Linked DNA regions of Homo sapiens: all the other regions are linked to region 3. The links are contacts of gene promoters, found by promoter capture Hi-C in blood cells and fetal thymus (Javierre and others, 2016). All regions are on one chromosome and are shown on one strand. The core of a region is centred on a gene start or on the middle of the fragment in contact, and the rest is flanking DNA. Distances in the headings are between cores, read along the strand shown.

The links. Contacts are between HindIII fragments. The CHiCAGO score rates a contact against its expected background, and 5 or more counts as called.
Region 1: a fragment that was not itself captured here is called in contact with the fragment with the promoter of NKX3-1 in region 3 in 1 of 17 cell types (total B cells); the score reaches 5.4 in total B cells.
Region 2: a contact is called between a fragment that was not itself captured here and the fragment with the promoter of NKX3-1 in region 3, in 1 of 17 cell types (M1 macrophages). The highest score is 5.1, in M1 macrophages.
Region 4: a contact is called between a fragment that was not itself captured here and the fragment with the promoter of NKX3-1 in region 3, in 1 of 17 cell types (total B cells). The highest score is 6.0, in total B cells.

What each region holds. Positions count from the first base shown.
Region 1 is chr8:24,423,027-24,426,555 of GRCh38, reverse strand. All of the region lies in intron 1 of ADAM7-AS1 (ADAM7, ADAMDEC1 and ADAM28 antisense RNA 1), which reads left to right. Among named protein-coding and RNA genes, the nearest start is that of ADAM7, 16 kb to the left of the region's middle. The HindIII fragment of the contact is 2,792 bases long and covers 755-3,529 here.
Region 2 is chr8:24,227,484-24,231,041 of GRCh38, reverse strand. No RefSeq gene overlaps it. Among named protein-coding and RNA genes, the nearest start is that of ADAM28, 65 kb to the left of the region's middle. The HindIII fragment of the contact is 7,534 bases long and covers 1-3,558 here.
Region 3 is chr8:23,681,222-23,684,426 of GRCh38, reverse strand. NKX3-1 (NK3 homeobox 1) reads left to right here and starts at 1,489. Exons shown (of 2, transcript NM_006167.4): 1 at 1,489-1,823; 2 at 2,788-3,205. The coding sequence starts at 1,538. All of the region lies in intron 3 of LOC107986930 (a long non-coding RNA gene), which reads right to left. RefSeq lists silencers at 1,308-1,817, 1,858-1,907. The HindIII fragment of the contact is 16,626 bases long and covers 1-3,205 here.
Region 4 is chr8:24,196,856-24,200,181 of GRCh38, reverse strand. The region is part of intron 2 of LOC107986931 (a long non-coding RNA gene); the gene reads right to left. Among named protein-coding and RNA genes, the nearest start is that of ADAM28, 96 kb to the left of the region's middle. The HindIII fragment of the contact is 2,308 bases long and covers 103-2,410 here.

The DNA.
Region 1 (3,529 bases), core at 901-3,400, 740 kb before region 3:
GAGCTGTGACATTACATCTGAGATTGAACAAAGAGAAAAAGCATTTCTATTATTGACAGTTACTAATATTACCTTCCATTTGCTGAATGCTTACTGTGTCTCACACACAGTGCTAAGCAATCTCTATTAAACCTTCCAAAGATGGCAAAACATAACTATGCTTTATCCAGGGCTTGCCTATCCTATGGGCTCATCTTTAAAATGGAGGATGGGGTGGTAATTTTATAGATAAGTAAACTAATTCTCCTTTTTAAATTCACACAGATAGTAAGTGGCAGAACAAGGATTCCTGAGTCTATGTCCTAAAAATCCAATTGGTTTTCAGGATATCACACTAACTCTATTAAAAGTAAATAACTTTAAAAAAAAATACCAAGTATCTATTTCTTGCCAAGACTTATGATTCAGAGCAGTTAGAAGGTCTCATTTAGGTAATAGGAAAATAGAGTGGTAACTGGCAATATGTACTTCTGAAGAAACACGAACTTAATCAGTACTAGGAATCAATATGTGTCCTAAATATACCTTTTTCTAAAACTAGCTCTAAATCCATTAAGGTTGTTAGACATTGAAGTTCTTTTGTAGCTCTAAAATTCTCTTTTTCTAATAATGAAATCTGACTTCAACCGCATGCTCTGAGAAAAAGTACTTTATCTGAAGACTAAAATTACTGAGAGCACATTTTAGGTCAATCAAATGAATGTTTCCTCCTAATTTACAACAAACTATTTTGATTCTCTAATTCTGTGAAGCTTATTTTAATTTCCTAGATGAAAGTAAAACAGAAACATAAAACGATATAGTCACTTTTTTTAGTAAAAATAATGGATTTTTTTTTTCATTTGTTTTCTACATGTGTACATGCGCAGGCCTACATGTGAATGTGTTTTACCCTGCAGGGAGAATTAATTAACTAGAAAACTAGTTGATCTATGGGGTTTACTAGAAAAGAGAATTTTAAGAACTTTACCTGGTGCTACTTTAACCCATTTTTCTTGTTAATATAGGTTTTATGATCTTACCTTTATATTTCTGTGGAATATGGAGAAAATGTTTTTATGTTTCTGTGGATTAGATAGATTTTAGATATAAAAACTTTCTAAAAGTCTTTACACAATTTACACCTTTAGTGTTGGAAATGGTGTAATAATGAAATACACAGCATAGCAAATTGTAAAAAATAACACTGACCATTTAAAACAGAGGGGAAAAATTAAATAGAAAAATTGGACATGTGAAAAAGTATACTACAGACACAGATTATGGTAGGAACATAAGTAGTTCCTAAGAACTGACTGACTTTTATGATTATTAACTGTATTTTGAAGTCTTGCATAATGATGAATATCTGCTTTTTTTCCTCTCTCTTAAGGCATAGCTTTTGGAAAATACATTCACATTCATTTTCTATGTGGCTGTGTTCTTTCTGAAATTTTTCTATGAATTGATGTGCATTGATGTCAGCATTTCCTATTGAACTTTCCTACCTTCTCTGCCATGCTTCTAGGTTGTTTTGTGAAACGCATTTTCTCATACCCTCATGTACAGACCGCAAATTTGGTAGAAACAATACTGGTGATTGAATATCAACACCGTTGGGTAAGTGTTTGAGATTATGATCAGCACCACTTTATGCTAACAAATATTTAAAATCTACATGAAATGGGGAAAGTCCTTAAGAGATTCAAGTTGTTAAAACAAATTAATCAAGATATAGAAAATCTGAATAGATATAGCCACTAGAAAAATGGAATTTGTAGTTTTAAACCTTCCCACAATGCAAACTCAAGACCCAGATAACTTCCTTGGTGAAATTCATGCCAGCATCTTAAGAATTTTACATGAACTCTTCTAAAATTTTGAGCATGAAAGAAAATATTCACAATTACATTTTGAGATCAGAATTAGCCTATTACCAAAACCATACAAAAATATTTTTTAAAAATAGTTGGCTTATCTCTTATGAAGAGAGCAAGAAAATAGTTAAAAATATAAATAAATGAAATATAGCAATATATGAATGAATAATATAACATGAGCAGGTGGAGTTTATCCTAGAAATACAAGTTTGGAATAACATTCAAAAATAAACCCCTACATTTCATCATTATGAAAGAGAAACTGATACAGAAGCTAGAAATAACTTACTTAGGCAGATAGGAAGGGGAAGAGTTCTTGGTTTTCCTTTTAATAAAAAGCAATCCTCAAATAATATCTTTTTTATTATACTTTTAAGTTCTGGGGTACATGTGCAGAACTTGCAGGTTTGTTTCATAGGTATACACGTGCCATGGTGGTTTGCTACACCCATCAACCTGTCACCTACATTAGGTATTTCTCCTAATGCTATCCCTCCCCCAGGCCCACACCCCGCCACAGGCCCCGGTGCATGACGCTGAGAATGATAGTTTCTAGTTTCATGCATGTCCCTGTAAAGAACATAAACTCATTCTGTTTGATGGCTGCATAGTATTCCATGGGGTGTATGTGCCACATTTTTTTATCCAGTCTGTCATTCATAGGCATTTGGGTTGGTTCCAAGTCTTTTCTATTGTGAGCAGTGCTGAAGTAAACATATGTGTGCATGTGTCTTTATAGTAGAATGATTTATAATCCTTTGGGTATATAACTAGTAATGGGACTGCTGGGTCAAATGGTATTTCTAGTTCTAGATCCTTGAGGAATCGCCACACTGTCTTCCACAATGGTTGAACTAATTTACACTCCCACCAACAGTGTAAAAGCCTTCCTATTTCTGTGCATCCTATCCAGCATCTGTTGTTTCCTGACTTTTTAATGATCACCATTCTAACTGGCATGAGATAGTATCTCATTGTGGTTTTGATTTGCATTTCTCTAATGACCAGTGATGATTAGCCTTTTTTCATATGTTTGTTAGCCGCATAAATGTCTTCTTTTGAGAAGTGTCTGTTCACATCCTTCGCCCACTTTTTGATGGCGTTGTTATTTTCTTGTAAATGTGTTTAAGTTCTTTGTAGATTCTGGATATTAGCCCTTTGTCAGATGGATAGATTGCAAAAATGTTCTCCCATTCTGTAGGTTGCCTGTTCACTCTGATGATAGTTTCTTCTGCTGTGCAGAAGTTCTTTAGTTTAATTAGATCCCATTTGTCAATGTTGGCTTCTGTTACCTTTGCTTTTGGTGTTTTAGTCATGAAATCTTTGCCCATGCCTATGTCCTGAATGGTATTGCCTAGGTTTTCTTCTAGGGTTTTTATGGTTTTAGGTCTTATGTTTAAGTCTTTAATCAATCTTTAGTTAATTTTTGTATAAGGTGTAAGAAAGGGATTTTTTTCAGGTTTCTGCACATGGCTAGCCAGTTTTCCCAACACCATTTATAAAATAGGGAATCCTTTCCCCATTACTTGTTTTTGTCAGGTTTTTCAAAGATCAGATGGTTGTAGATGTGTGGTGTTATTGCTGAGGCCAAAAACCAAACCGCGTCTTCTCCTCCAAATAATGTCTTTTCTAACAAACAGCAGCCTGTAAAATTGAGCTGTAGACATAAA
Region 2 (3,558 bases), core at 251-2,750, 550 kb before region 3:
TGATTCCTGCAAAACATACTGCTCTCCCTTTTCTCTGAACAGCTATAAAATGTAGACTACTTTGTCACATAAATGTCAGCATTCATATACATTTTTTGGTCTTATCCAGTTATATTATATGATAGTACTTTCTAGCCTTCAACATTCTGTCCACTGGATTACACTTCAATCAGCTTCTTTGTCCTGCTAAAATCCAGCATCAAGTTGAGTATCTGATACTCAGGAGTATGTGTGATTAAATAGAAGTATTTGTAGACTCATGAAATGTCAAAAGCATTATGAGGATACACGGGAGGCTTGGGAGTGCCTTTTTATTTAACCTCACCACCTCTGTGCACACACTAATGATTGAAGTAAAAAAAAAAAATACTAGAGAGCAATAGAAAGGTTAAAAATTTAAGTACCGGCCAGCGCGGTGGCTCACGCCTGTAATCCCAGCATTTTGGGAAGCTGAGGAGGGTGGATAACGAGGTCAGGGGTTCAAGACAAGCCTGGCTGACATGGTAAAACCCTATCTCTACTAAAGATACAAAAAATTAGCCAGGCGTGGTGGTGCATGCCTGTAATCCCAGCGACTCGGGAGGCTGAGGCAGGAGAGTTGCATGAACCTGGCAGGCGGCGGTTGCAGTGAGCCGAGATCATGCCATTGCACTCCAGCCTGAGCAACAGGGGGAGACTCTGTCTGAAAAAAAGAAAAAAATTAAGTACCTAGTAGCAAACTAATAAAATAATATTTTAGGGCAGTTTTAAAATTAGAGCTTAAACAATAGAGATGACTAGTAAAAATGATTTTTGAACTGTGTCCCACGCAGTTCTAGGGTCGTATCAGGCTTCCAAAGAGACTTTGGGGGAAATGAAGATCTAAGTTGGCCAAGCTCAGCTTCCTCAACACAGCCTGAGGTGGAATGGTTCCACAGTCTTTCATTTTATTTTGTATTTTTGCATTCTGTGGAATATTTCATCCATAAAAAGGGGCTCAGCTGATTAAACCAATTGATAATTTTAGAAACCACCAATTTGGTTCAATGCTTTGTTTTTAGGAATGAAGAAATTGTAGGTCAGCCAGTGCAAATGGTTTGTTTGACCTCACCCAGCTAGATCATGGTGGATTTGAGACAATACACAGATTCAAGAAGCATTTATAAAGTACTGGCTGATTACTAGAGGTCCTGGTTGCTAAGTACTTCCACATATTCTCCAGCATTCATAACGTAGCCTCTAGTTTCAGGATAGAAAGATTTGCCCTAGTAGCAACTTGTTGAGTGACTAGGTTGTCAAGAAAAATATTTCTTGTACCTTTCCCATTCAGAAGCCATGCTAATGTTATTTTTAAATATAGTGAAGACTGCTTGATATTTTTATACATGATAATTTTGTTTAAAAATACTGATGTAAAGGAATTATGTGCCTCTACCGTATCTTTTCCCCTCTAAACGGGCTTGAAGGGAATTTCTGCCTTCAACTAAGCCTCCATCACCCAAGTGATTTCTACATAGAGGCGACCACGAGAGGGCGCCAAAGACATTGCTCTCAAATCTGCATCCACTTGGAGGCTACGTTTTTTATTTCATTGTAAATTTAGAGGAAGTGGGTGGGGAAGCCCAAGGCCTGGGAAAATGACCATAATAATGGTACCTCGTGTTTATATAGCACCTTTCTTCAATTAACTCAGCATGTTGGGATATGATTATTCAGCTGGGAGCTTCCAGTTGTGGGAAATGAGGCACAAGGCAAACACGTGGCCTAGGTGGGACAGAGGGTAAGACTAATTCTTACTCATTTCAAACGTCCATTCATTATTTTTACTCTCAAAAGCTGATATGTGACGTTTCCTGCACATTTCCTTAGAAACAATAAGCTGAGAAGTCAGAGGCCCAAACTCGAATAGATTAAATGGAAATATTCATTCTGCAAGGGAAAGAAATCACACTCCTCCCAGAGCCAAGGAAGGAAGTAAAACCAAATTTTAAAAATTATATAATCAAATTATAAGATGTCAAGTGGAATGTATTATTTTGCAAAGTACATCATGAAAACAACATAGCTTTAAAAAAAATCTTAGCTACATCCTTAAACAAATCTACTCAAATTTGTAATGTAAGTCATTCATCTTTTCTTCGTCCAAGATGACAACAAAAGTAAAGAACAGGCAGGAGAATCGCTTGAACCCGGGAGGTGGACGTTGCAGTGAGCCCAGATCGCGCCACTGCACTCCAGCCTGGGCGACAGAGCGAGACTCCATATCAAAAAAAGAAGAAAAAAATAAAAAATAATAATTAAAAAAGAACAAATTGAACTTTAAAAAGCTAAACTTTAGTACTGCTAAAGAAAATATTATTCCAGAGTTTAATGTGTTAAATAAATGTGCCTCCCAGCACTTTGGGAGGTCGATGCGGGTAGATCACCTGAAGTCAGGAGTTTAAGACCAGCCTGGCTGACGTGGTGAAACCCCATCCCTACTAAAAATACAAAAATTAGCTGGGCATGGTGGCAGGCACCTGTAATCCTAGCTACTCAGGAGGCTAAGGCAGGAGAATCGCTTGAAACCAGGAGGTGGAGGTTGCAGTGAGCCAAGATTGTACCAATGCACTTCAGCCTGGGCAACAAGAGTGAAACTCCATCTCAAAACGAGTAAATAAAAACAAACAAATGTGCCAAGGTGAATTAGTAGAGAAACGTTAAGAAAGATAATTTGATTAATAGACAATTAGGTCTGTGGCTTAATCATCGACGAATAATATTGCTATAGTGAATGATTCCAGTGAGAGCATTTGCAAAGACTGGTATGTAATACACGACTAAGATGCTGTCTTCCTCTAGAGTCATTTCGGGTCTCTCCTACAAATTCAAGGTCTTGAGTTTTTTCAAAGTATGAAGCACGGTCTCTAACTTCAAAATTAATACGTGGGCATTTACTCATAGGTATGTTTGAGACTGCGACTTTGCAAGTTTACACCCTCGAGGGTCATCTGTTTTCAATAAATATATATATATTTTCTTTACATTGCAGATGGTGCTTGAATAGGGCCTGCTTAATAATGCATATGACCTTAATGAATACCTGTCATATAAAGGGTTTGTCCAAACGTGTGAGGGGATGAATACGTTTGCAATTAGCTGATCTTCATTTTATGAAAATACACATTTCAGAGACTCTGCATGTCCTGAAATGGAAACAAATCAAAACACGTTTCTTTCTCTCTTACTTCTTTCCCTCTTCCACATTTTGTTGAATTTGAGAAATTCCAGTGATTGATTTGGGTTTTGTGATAGTTAATACTGGGTGATAACTTGATTGGATTGAAGGATGCAAAGTAGTGATCCTAAGTGTGTCTGTGAAGGTGTTGCCAAAAGAGATTAACATTTGAGTCAGTGGGCTGGGGAAGGCAGACCCACCCTTAATTAATCTGGGTGGGCACCATCTAATGAGCTGCCATGGAATAAAAAGCAGGCAGAAAACCATGAAAAGGCTAGACTGGGCTAGCCTCCCAGCCTACACTACATCTTTCTCCTGTGTTGGATGCTTCCTACCCTCGAACATCAGACTCCAGGTTCTTC
Region 3 (3,205 bases), core at 240-2,739:
TCCCGTTGCACAGGTAGTTTTCTTTGGCGGTCGCTTTATCAGCAATAACCTATTAACTTTCCTTCCTCCAGAGACACATGACATACCATCCTTTTGAAAAGTTGCCAGTTGAATAGAAGCCGTCTTAGACCAGGACAGACAAAAAAGTTGCATTAAAAAAATGGTTCTAAAAAACATCAGCCTACCCTTTTTCCAGATTACCAACTGTTACCATTTAACCCATCGGCTTTATGGCGTGGGATCTATCAATCTGCATCCTTGTTTCAGAACCATTTGATGTAAGTTTCATAAATCTTGTGCCTTTGCTCCTACTTACTTCAGTGTTTATTTCCTAAAAATATTCTCTTGTACACTGACAGTACAATGTGCAATTTCAGTAAATTTAACATTAATTCAATACTTCCATCATCGACCTGACACTGAGACTCATGCCTGTAGTCCTGGCACTTTGAGAGGCCAAGGCAGGAGGATCACTTGAATCCAGGAAATCGAGGCTGCAGTGAGTTATGATGGCATCACTGCACTCCAGCCTGGGCGGCAGAGGGAGACCCTGTCCGTAAAAAAAAGAAGAGAAAAGACAAGGAAAGAAAATACTTCCATCATCTCTGTTCCACTTTCGTCTGTTGTCACGGTACCGTCCAGTCCAGTCACAGTACCGGTTGGACCAATCTGGCTAACCCATTGTTTAGCCAATGGGTTACATGTTAACAGTTGGTAATCTGCAAAAAGAGTATGCTGATGTTCTTTTGAACTACTTTTTTAAATGCAGTTTTTGCATTTGTCCTGGCCTAAAACGCCTTCCATCCGTCTGGAAACTTTTCAAAAGGATGGTATGTCATGTGTCTGGGGAGGAAGGAAAGTTAACAGGTTATTGCGGATAAAGGAACCACCAAAGAAAACCACTTCTGCAACGGGAAAAGGCTTTGGCAAAGGTGTTTTCCTTCTTTCAGCCTGGGGTCTGGCTGCACCTACTTGTCATGCCTCTTTGAGGTCGTAGATATTGCAGATCTGAGTTTGCACCATCTCTCCCAGAGAGAGAGAGCACCCAGAACTCTCACGGTACCGCGCGGCTGCAGTGACTGCGTGCTCATCCCCTGTAATTGGCTCTGACGGTCCTGAAGAGCTAACTGGACTGTTTGTCTTGATCGTCCCATCCCCAGGAGCTTCTCTCTGTTGCGGGTGGGTTGGGGCAGAGGAGCCCCGCTTTGGGGTGCGCTCCTGGCCTGGGAAAACGGCTCAGGGCGGAGGGAGGAGAGCTGGAGAAGGAGAGGAAATTGGGGAAGGAGAGGGAATTGGGGAAGGAGAGGGAACTGGGGAAGGAATCCCCTAGGGAGGAGCGGAGCGGGGCAGTGCTCAGGGCTCGCAGATCGGCGGGGTCACCTGGGGCTCAGGGCGGCCAATCCGCGGCGCGGCCCGTCCCGCGGCCAATGGGAGGGCGGCGCGGCCCGCTCCCCTGGGCTATAAGCGAGCCGGGAGGCGGAAAGTGAAAGCGGTGCGGGCCGGGCGGGTGCATTCAGGCCAAGGCGGGGCCGCCGGGATGCTCAGGGTTCCGGAGCCGCGGCCCGGGGAGGCGAAAGCGGAGGGGGCCGCGCCGCCGACCCCGTCCAAGCCGCTCACGTCCTTCCTCATCCAGGACATCCTGCGGGACGGCGCGCAGCGGCAAGGCGGCCGCACGAGCAGCCAGAGACAGCGCGACCCGGAGCCGGAGCCAGAGCCAGAGCCAGAGGGAGGACGCAGCCGCGCCGGGGCGCAGAACGACCAGCTGAGCACCGGGCCCCGCGCCGCGCCGGAGGAGGCCGAGACGCTGGCAGAGACCGAGCCAGGTAAGCGGCGAGGCCGGGGAAGGGGGGCAGCCCAAGGCGGACCCCCAGAGCTCGGGGTGCAGGGACGCGGGGCTCCGCGGCGACAGGCAGAGGGACCTTCCCGCCTCCGCAGCCACGCGCGCGCCCCCGGAATGAACCCTGAGCCCCAGCGTCAGGGCGGCGCAGGATTCTGACACCGCAGGACTCGCCCGGCTCCGTGCCCTCCGCTCCCTGGGGCTCAGAAGCCGGCGCGACTGCAGCGCCACCGCCCTCCACCGTCCCAGGAGCGGATCCCGCCCCGCGCCACCCGCGATCGGCGCCAGCCCCCCGGTAGTTATGAGAACTAATAATAACTTATTAACAGTGACAAAGCAGGGGTTGACCAGCAAAGCCTCCGTGTGCTTCCCAATCCCGTGGGCAGTAAAGCGGTATATTCGGGGTTCCCTCCGGTGTCCAGGAGAGAGAGTCCACTTATTTTCTTTCCTGTCACTTCTGATGAGGCGACCGAACGCCTCGTTTAGCGAAGAGGGAATTAAAGCCCAGAATGAGCCTGCCTCTGCGTCTCCAGTGGCACAAGCCCTCTCTTGCCCACCTGGATCCTAACACCGGATGTCTTTTGGTCTGGCCTTCCCGGGTATCTTGTTCCACGGCATTTTCCCTGCCTCCCTCTCCCGCCTCTCCTCAGCACACAGATCCAGAATCCCCATATAATTCTACTAGACAGTAGGGAGAAAGTTCAACCACGAAACGTCTCTAACTTTGGGTTCTTGATGATTCTTAGCAAATGAATGCGTAATAAACATATTTACTCACTCTTCACTCCGGAGAGCTCCTTAGTCATGTGAAAAAAGTGAAATGTATCCACGATGACAGTGGGCTGTTTGTTCACTCACTAAAGAGATAAGGGTGGATTGAATTCTGTTCTCTTCCCTGCTAACATGTAACTTTTGTCTTCCCATCCCTCCTTCCCCACTCTCCTTTCCAGAAAGGCACTTGGGGTCTTATCTGTTGGACTCTGAAAACACTTCAGGCGCCCTTCCAAGGCTTCCCCAAACCCCTAAGCAGCCGCAGAAGCGCTCCCGAGCTGCCTTCTCCCACACTCAGGTGATCGAGTTGGAGAGGAAGTTCAGCCATCAGAAGTACCTGTCGGCCCCTGAACGGGCCCACCTGGCCAAGAACCTCAAGCTCACGGAGACCCAAGTGAAGATATGGTTCCAGAACAGACGCTATAAGACTAAGCGAAAGCAGCTCTCCTCGGAGCTGGGAGACTTGGAGAAGCACTCCTCTTTGCCGGCCCTGAAAGAGGAGGCCTTCTCCCGGGCCTCCCTGGTCTCCGTGTATAACAGCTATCCTTACTACCCATACCTGTACTGCGTGGGCAGCTGGAGCCCAGCTTTTTGGTA
Region 4 (3,326 bases), core at 7-2,506, 520 kb before region 3:
AATGATGTATAGCCTTTTTTACTTGTTCTTATATTCATTGCTGTTTTGTAGACATGTAATTTTGAATTTTAAATTTAATTTTTTTAAGGATTGTGTTAAGCTTCCTAGTTTTGCCCTTCATCACTGCTTTTAGGGTCAATCCATGTTTCTGTGTGTATATCTAGTGTGTTATTATTAACTCAGACTCATCCTCCATGGGGTTTACCTACAACACACACCTAATGGCTTCTCCAGTGATGGACATTCTACATTTCTACTACCCACTAACACAAATACTGCTGCAGTGAGTATCAGAGGGCATGTTTTTGAGTTTCTCTAGGATCATATGCCTTGGAGAAGGATCCGTGGGTCATGGGGAATAGATGGATTTAATTAGACTAAACATTGCTGGGTGGTTATGCAAAATAAGCTGTACCACCCTTCCATGAAAAGGGCATAATATATCCACAGCCACACTCCCCACTACCAACTGTCTAATTTATCACCCTCTGACAGACATAAAGTGATAATTATGGATGTTTCTATTTTTATTTTTAATACAATTGAGCATCTCTTTGAGATCTTCTATTCTGTGAATTCCTGTTCAAACCTCTTACCCATTTTCTATTAGGGTTCATGTCTTTTTCTTCTTATTTGCAAGTGTTTCTTATAACTTTTATATATTAATCCCTTGTCAATTTTAGACATTGCAAACATCTTCTCTCAGTCTAAATTTTCCATAATGTTCTATATTTAAGATAAATCTTTAATTTTTATGTAAATACATTTTGCCCTGATGCTTTCTGCATTTGAGGTTTTTATCAAATCTCAAGTGTTAATTATTTTAAAGTTATAAAATACCAAGTACCTAATGTACGTTTTTTTTTTTCAAATAGCATCTTAGTTAAGTGTTGCAGAGAATATTTTAGTTTATGTCCTGATCCTGAATGTCAAGGAGTTGCTCATCAATTCTAGACAGAAATACATTGTATAACTTTATGGTTTACCATTAAAATTTGACCTTTAGTCCATCTGCATCTAACATTATATATAGTTTTGATGAGGATTTATCTTCCAGTTCTATTCCTTTACCACTGTAAGGAATAAGCCAGGTATGTGATTATGTATCTGGAAAAAGATATATATTCAGGCAGAGGAATAGCAAGTATAAAATCCCTATGTGGAAATCAGCTTGGCATCTTCCGGGATCGGGAAGAATTCCACTGTGGTAGGAGAGCACAGAGCTAGGGAAGGAGCCATCATAAGTGAAGAAGTAGGCAGGAGCCATTCAGCAGAGTCCTTGAAGCCATGGGAAAATGGTAGATTTCATTCTAAGTGTAATTGCAATCCATTGGAGGGTAAGTAGAGTCACACAATTTGAGTTATGTTTTAAAGTAGATTTCCATGGGGCTTTCAATGATGGATGAGATTAAGAGCATTCTACTTCTTTTCTCCTGCTAATTATAACTTAACACTTCAAACAGAATACAAAAGCAACTAATAGAAGACTCTAAATAAATGAGTATTTGAAAAACCAGGTTCATTAGAGGCCTCAGGACTCCCCTGAGGTTATATTTTATTTTCCTTTTTTTTTTTTTTTTTTTTTTTTTCCCCTACTGACCTGATTTGCAGGCTATTGGGCTGATCCTAAACCCATTTGGTCCTGGGCATTACTGGTTCTGATGAGTGAATAATACCTGCTGTCTAAACATAAGCAGCCCCAAATCTTTTGTGTCTTATAAGAAACTGCTTTGGTGACTCCTACCTTTTCCAACAAAACATCATGTCCAGTGTGCATATACATATCTAGTTTGAATATTTCAAAAGAAATATCACCACTCAATATGTACTCACTTGAGGCTTTTAAAGGATACATGAGAAAGAGAATGCAAGCAGGTATTGGAAGTCTCCAGAGATATCCCATAGCTTGAACTCCCCAGGGCTCCATCTGCATATTAGGACTGGGCAGTGTCCTAGTGTGTCCATGATTTGAACTGTCATCTGTGTAAAAAACCTTGGCTCCAGGGGAGCACTCCAAAAAAATCTCAGTAGCTCTTTTAGTCAAACCAGGCTTATCAGACCAGTTAGTCCTGTTGCCTAACCATAAGTTAAGAAGGTAAACTTGGAATATGGCAAGGATGTTTCGGTCCCTAAACAGTACATCATAAATGCCACTGACCTTAAGAGTAAAAAACTTCCAATGTCTAAATATCCCCAAAGATTAAAAACAGAATATTTCCAGTACAGTTGTAAGTCAGCTCTATTCCAACAGCCTTCTAACTCTTGGTCAAAGCATTGCAAGTACAAATTGCTGATGGGTGTTCCTTTCCCTCTATCTTTCATATTATTTACAGAAAAAAAGAAAGAACAACTGCTAGAATACTATTTATTTGTATCAACAAAAAGTGTGGGTATAACTGTAAAGAAAGCTTTCAGTTTGCCAAAGATTCTAGAAGATTCCAGTGCAAACTTCTTCATAGTCATGCACAAGCTTGACAACAATTTGACAACCCTCTGCCACTAAAATGTAAACTTTATAAAGGGTATCAATGGATTGATCCAATGGAACGATTAATTCATTGTTAATAAATCTAGTTCCTCCTTTGCCCAATCAGCTTCTATTGGAAGAAAATCTTGTAAAGATTTTAATTCAATCTGACAATATATTTGGTCATCAATATCAGTGTTATAGGTTTAGTAAAAATCCATTAAATTAACCTTATAATTATACCAGCATTACACCAATTACCAATTACATTATGAATTAGATTAAGATCACTACAAAACAAGTCAGTTAAAATTACTGTCACATTTCCCTGGCTTTCCCAGCAAAAAGTGATTTTGTCCATACACCTAATGTTGTCATGGATTGAAGTATAAATCAAGAGCCAAGTTGCAGTTAGTTATGGATTCCAAGTCCCTTGTGGGCATAGTTATATGCTCTGTTTCATACTATAAGGTTTTACGGATACAGGTTCCCAAGGTGTTTATTTTTAAGAAATGTCTGTCTTTCCCCCACAGGTAAAATCTTGAAGTTTAATTAGTTTTAACTAACTTCACCAATGGGTACATCTGTTTTTATTTATGCACGGGACTCTGACAGTTAAGGAGCAGGCATGTAGATTGTATTCTCCGTTTAGAAATTTCCATGCACTCAGGAGACCATAAGTCTCCTGTAACTCATCCCTGGATCCCAGAACATTGCCCTTAAGCTAACTGCTTCCATCTGGAGGAGCATACTTCACAGCTCCTCTTTGGTTACTGTGAATGCTCTTTTCTACCTTTGTTCCCTAGGGTGCTGCCTAAGTATCTATTGAGCCTGTTTACCTATTTCTCCAAGGCTGTGT